Linked DNA regions of Homo sapiens: region 2 is linked to region 1. The links are contacts of gene promoters, found by promoter capture Hi-C in blood cells and fetal thymus (Javierre and others, 2016). All regions are on one chromosome and are shown on one strand. The core of a region is centred on a gene start or on the middle of the fragment in contact, and the rest is flanking DNA. Distances in the headings are between cores, read along the strand shown. Region 1 holds the start of DDX41 (DEAD-box helicase 41). Region 2 overlaps RGS14 (regulator of G protein signaling 14).

Region 1 (2,700 bases), core at 141-2,640:
CTCCCGGCCTGAGATTGCCATGTATTTGGGTGTTGTGAGCAGGACCAGAAACCATGTCCTCCTCCATCCCTCCCAGGTTGAGACCCACCATGGGACTGGCAGTAAGCACCAGCTTATTTTTTTTATAGAGATGGGGTCTTGCTATGTTGTCCAAGCTGGTCTTGAACTCCTGGCTTCAAGCGATCCTCCTGCCTTGGCCTCCCAGAGAGCTGGGATTACAGGAATGAGCCACTGTGCCCAGCCTAAGCTTTCTTTACTAAAGAAGACTTCATGAATTCCTGTGTATCCTTCACATCCCAGCTAAGAGGCCATTGTACTGTGAAAACTATGACACTTCGAAAAGCGGTACCTTGTCTTAGGATCTTTCTCTTTAAGACCAGTTATCTGTCTATATTTCTAGTCTCAATCTACATAAGCTCCTCGCACACCAGGTATGTGTCTTGATTATCATCTGCTTGAGCGCAGTGCCAGCGCCCAGCACACACTCTTGAAGGCAAGAAAGCACAGAGCTGACCAAGTCATTCCTTAGAAGTCTCTAATAAAGTTGAAACCACTTACTCTGACAGTCACAGCAGGCATGCTCTGGTCGCAATCTCCTTTTCTGGCCTTAGGTCTGGCTTCCCCATCCCACCCTTGCCGCAATGCTGTTGCCTGGTGAATCTGTGTACTTGCACATCGCCAGACCTGTATTCCTGCAGCGCCCTGGCCCAGGACGCCTCTCCTCTCCCGGCCTGAGATTGCCACGCTTCCCTGGAAGCGCCCCCCAGGCAGCTCTGTTAGAGCATTTACAGTAATAACCGTTTACATTTATACAGGGCCTCCCACTTCAAAACCACTGCCATCCGTATCTGATGCGTGCCCCACCAGTGAACGTATGTGTCACACAGGCGCAGTCAGGGAGGCAGGGTGTGTCGAGCGGTTTATCCCGCAACCCCGGCGTCCCCGGCAGGGATGAAAGCGCAGGGCCCACGCGAACTCGGCCCGCAGCTCCCGGCCCTAGAGGACGCACTGTCCGCCGGCAGGGGCGTGCCCAAGACGCCATGCTCTGGGAGAGGTTGGGCACCTGGCAGGCCGCCCCGACTCCGGATCAGCTGTCTCCGCTGCGTACGTCTTCCTCTTCCAATGGGCTTGGATTGAGCCTTCTAGCGCATATTCCAAGTCCTCCAATGTCCCACAATGCCTTGCAGCCGGTTTCGCCCTCGGTCCTGGCAACTGTCGCGTAACCACCCATGAAAGCGTCCATGCCTCGCCGTGCGATAGTATCTCCGGAACAAATTTGTCCCTCTGCGCGATCCGGAACTCCGAGGTCGTTCCTACGCGCCGTCGTTCGCCTCTTCACATCGGATTGGGTCTCACGCAAGGATGAGGCGGGGTTTCGCCGTGGCGCGCATGCGTGCAGCAAAGAATGGAGGAGTCGGAACCCGAACGGAAGGTAGGAGAGAGGCGAGACCCCGCGCGTGTGGGAGCGGGCGTGAAGAGGGGAGCAGGCCGTGCCTGACTGGCGTGTGCTTGCAGCGGGCTCGCACCGACGAGGTGCCTGCCGGAGGAAGCCGCTCCGAGGCGGAAGATGAGGACGACGAGGACTACGTGCCCTATGTGCCGTTACGGCAGCGCCGGCAGCTACTGGTGAGGGGCACGCGTCCGGGGAGGGATGGGGCCGTGACCGCGGGGTCGCAGGGGGCGGGCGTGGCCTCGGCCTCCGTGGGGAGGAGGGCAGTCTGAGGAGTGAGCTTCAGTACACCAGGGCGCGGCCCCCAGACAAACGAGGGACCGACGGCTTGATCTGAGGGGTAGGGCAGCTTTGCGCCTCGGGCACAGGATCCTCGCCCCAAAGCCAGGATCCTGACGCTGACCTTGTGGACTCCATGCCCATCCTATCTGTGGATCCCGGGTGGAACCTCAGCTCCAGAAGCTGCTGCAGCGAAGACGCAAGGGAGCTGCGGAGGAAGAGCAGCAGGACAGCGGTAGTGAACCCCGGGGAGATGAGGACGACATCCCGCTAGGCCCTCAGTCCAACGTCAGCCTCCTGGATCAGCACCAGCACCTTAAAGAGAAGGCTGAAGGTGGGCTGGGCAGCACTGCCTGGGCGAGAAAGAAGAAGCTGAGCCTGGTACACCGTTTTGGTATCTGTCTGACATCTTCCACTTCTTTTCTCAGCGCGCAAAGAGTCTGCCAAGGAGAAGCAGCTGAAGGAAGAAGAGAAGATCCTGGAGAGTGTTGCCGAGGGCCGAGGTATGGTTGTAGCCAGGATAGTGAGAAGGTGGACTGAGTCTTCTCCTCCCAGCCCCAGGCATGTTATATCTCAAGGGATCTGGCTTCTCAGAAGCAGGAGCCAGCCCTGAGCCATGTCTCTCTCTTCAGCATTGATGTCAGTGAAGGAGATGGCTAAGGGCATTACGTATGATGACCCCATCAAAACCAGGTATGTCTGTACAGTCTGCAGTTGCCCTTGCTTAGGATGGTACATGCAGGGATGCTCCCAGGCCAGCTATTCCCAGGGCTCTCTTGATCCCTGTTACCCATCCACAGCTGGACTCCACCCCGTTATGTTCTGAGCATGTCTGAAGAGCGACATGAGCGCGTGCGGAAGAAATACCACATCCTGGTGGAGGGAGACGGTATCCCACCACCCATCAAGAGCTTCAAGGAAATGAAGTTTCCTGCAGGTAGTCAGGGGCTGGAGAGAGATACCACACTTTT
Region 2 (2,793 bases), core at 237-2,736, 140 kb after region 1:
AAAAGGAGAAAAGCAAGGAGTGTTTTATTTCAGGTATAGCTGGATTTCGTCAGGAATCTTCCTTCATCTTTTAGTCTTGCTCTCCAGTGTTGGCTGCATTCACATGCAGGTTCGCTCCCTAAGGGTCCTTTCTACAAACCCCAGGAGACGGTAGAAAATGACCGGGACTGGGACTCTGATTGGAACACCTGAGGTCAGAGGACTATGTCTGAACCAAATTCTGGCCAGGGAAAGGTACTACTCTGATTGGCTAGTGGAATGGAGTACGCTGATTGGCCAGTGGAATGGAGTATTCTGATCAGCCAGGCTTGCCAGGGATCCGGTTATGCCAGCCAAACAAAATGGGCTGAGGGGGCAGAGGTGTGAAGCTCCCATAGTGGGACAGGGTGGCTGGCAAACCCCACAGATTTCCAGGAGGAGGAGGAGCCAGTTGACTGCGCACGGGGCAGGTAAGGGGAGTTCCTGGCAGAGGAGACAGCGAGTGCAAAGATTCCAATGGGGAAGGCAACGTGACCTGTTTGAGGCAGTCAGGAGACACCCCTCACTCTCTCAGGTGCCTTCTCCTGGCCCCTACACCCCCTAGCTTCCTGTTGCAGCACTTACCTCTCTGGGCTGGAACCCAGTCTGGCTTCTCTCCCCGCAGTCTGGGGCCCTCCTTCTGGGAGGTCCTCCTTGCCTCCCACAGTGAGGGGTTTGGACTTCCAGCTAGACCACCCAGCTAAAGCAGGTAAGAGTGAGAACCTGCCCCTGAGGGGCCAGGTGCGGTGGCTCACGCCTGTAATCCCAACACTTTAGGAGACCGAGGCAGGCGGCTCACAAGGTCAGGAGATCGAGACCATCCTGGCTAACACGGTGAAACCCCGTCTCTACTAAAAATACAAAAAATTAGCTGGGCACGGTGGCGGGGGCCTGTAGTCCCAGCTACTCAGGAGGCTGAGGCAGGAGAATGGCGTGAACCCTGGAGGCGAAGCTTGCAGTGAGCCAAGATGGCCAAGATCGCGCCACTGCACTCTAGCCTGGGCGACAGAGGGAGACTCCGTCTCAAAAAAAAAAAAGAGAGAGAACCTGCCCCTGCTACAACAATCAGTGTCCCCCTTATAGACCTTTGGTGCCCTCAAAGGATTCTCCAGTTATGTGTGCAGAGACACTCAGTCCCCAGTAGAAGCAGAGAACAGGACCAGAATGATGTACTCAGATCCACAGAGACCACAGTACAACAGCAACATGATGGAGAGGCACAGCTCCCCACAGGGTTCTTCACCCCCACACCTCTCCCCGCCCTCTCTCTCACCTCCACACCATGACAGGTCTCACTCTGTCATCCAGGCTGGAGTGCGGTGGCACGATCTCGGCTCACTGCAACCTTCGCCTTCCGGGCTCAAGTGATCCTCTTCCACCTGTCTCCCAAGTAGCTGGGACCACAGGCATGCACCACCACACCCAGGTAATTTTTTGTATTTTTGGTAGAGACAGAGTTTTGACATGTTGCCCAGACTGGTCTCAAACTCCTGAGCTCAAGCGATCCACCCCCACCCCCCTTGGTCTCCCAAAGTGCTGGGATTACAGGTGTGAGCCACCTCACCCAGCTCCCATATTCTTAAAAAAAAAAATACTATAAGATATTCACACACCACCCCATATACTGTGCAGTCAGGAAGAGAGGTTCTGAAAACAGGAAGTCAGGAGGCACATCCTGAGGTCCCCAAGAGTTTCCTGGCACTGACCTTGGTGACAGAAGTAGTGTGTTTTGAGGGTGGGGGAAGCCACAGGACAGTCTGGCACACAAGGAAGACAACTCATGGCAGAATAATAATAATTATTATAATAACAGTATCATACATCAAGGACAAACCCAGCTGCCCCAAGCCTACTGCAAAATCTGTATGTACAGTATAGTCTATGTGGGTGGGGTACAGGGCTGCCTGCCTGCACCCTCAAGGCCTTACTCATACCAGCTTCCTGAGGAGGGGCCGGCCCCTCCTCTTGCCCCTGTTGAAGCTTGGCACAGGCTGGGGAGGCTGGCACTGCCAACGCCATCCCTCCATGTTGGGCAAGCCTGTTCCAAGGGGCTGGACTCACCTCCCCCATTGTGGCCTGGCTGCAAGGGATTGGGGGTGAGCTTGTTGAGGGACAAGGCGGTGGCAGCTGTGGGGTGTGTCTCATCTGAGTCCCCTTTCCACCCCTACCGGCTCTTCCTGCGGGCCTGCCCATGGCAGGAAGGGGCCAGGGACACTCATGGCACAGACAGGGCATGCAGAGCGGACCCATGGCATGCTCGGCCCGCCGGGTGCCATGCAGCTGTCCTGGACTGTTGGGTAGCTGTCAGAGGGCTGAGTCGGTGGTGGAGTTCAAGGATCCCCCGATGGGCTGGGCTGCTGATTTGGTCTGTGGTGGGGTCTCCTCGGAGCTGGGCCCTTGGGCGGGCAGCTGCAGAAATTCTGGAAGTACCAGGTCCTCTTTCCTCAGAAGGCCCCTCTGGTCGTGGGCCCCGCTGCTCTGCACCCGGTTCAGCAGCTCCACCAGGCCTGGAGGCAAGCCACAGCATGAGGGTCCCCCCAGCAGACCTGCCTATATGCCAGCCCACGATAGTCCCACTGCCTTACTGTGGCCACTGCCTCCCTGGCCCCAGCACCAATGGCCTGCGGCCCCCTGTTCCAGCCCCTTTGACCCCCCAACCCCCATCCTTCCTGTTCCACGCCCAGTGGCACCCAGCCCCCTGCCTTAGCTCAAGGCTCTCTGATGCCACCCTGAATGGTCCCCAACCCCACTGCCCTAGTCTTTCTGATCCCCAGC

What was found. Contacts are between HindIII fragments. The CHiCAGO score rates a contact against its expected background, and 5 or more counts as called.
Region 2: a contact is called between a fragment that was not itself captured here and the fragment with the promoter of DDX41 in region 1, in 4 of 17 cell types (activated CD4 T cells, naive CD4 T cells, total CD8 T cells and 1 more). The highest score is 7.7, in activated CD4 T cells.

The regions. Positions count from the first base shown.
Region 1 is chr5:177,515,651-177,518,350 of GRCh38, reverse strand. DDX41 (DEAD-box helicase 41) reads left to right here and starts at 1,390. Exons shown (of 17, transcript NM_016222.4): 1 at 1,390-1,432; 2 at 1,516-1,626; 3 at 1,904-2,063; 4 at 2,158-2,232; 5 at 2,362-2,422; 6 at 2,530-2,666. The coding sequence starts at 1,406. RefSeq lists enhancers at 1,026-1,295, 1,324-2,148. The HindIII fragment of the contact is 2,611 bases long and covers 250-2,700 here.
Region 2 is chr5:177,371,605-177,374,397 of GRCh38, reverse strand. It overlaps RGS14 (regulator of G protein signaling 14), which reads right to left. Exons shown (of 15, transcript NM_006480.5): 15 at 1,802-2,525. The coding sequence ends at 2,323. Among named protein-coding and RNA genes, the nearest start is that of SLC34A1, 11 kb to the left of the region's middle. RefSeq lists an enhancer at 196-696. The HindIII fragment of the contact is 1,028 bases long and covers 973-2,000 here.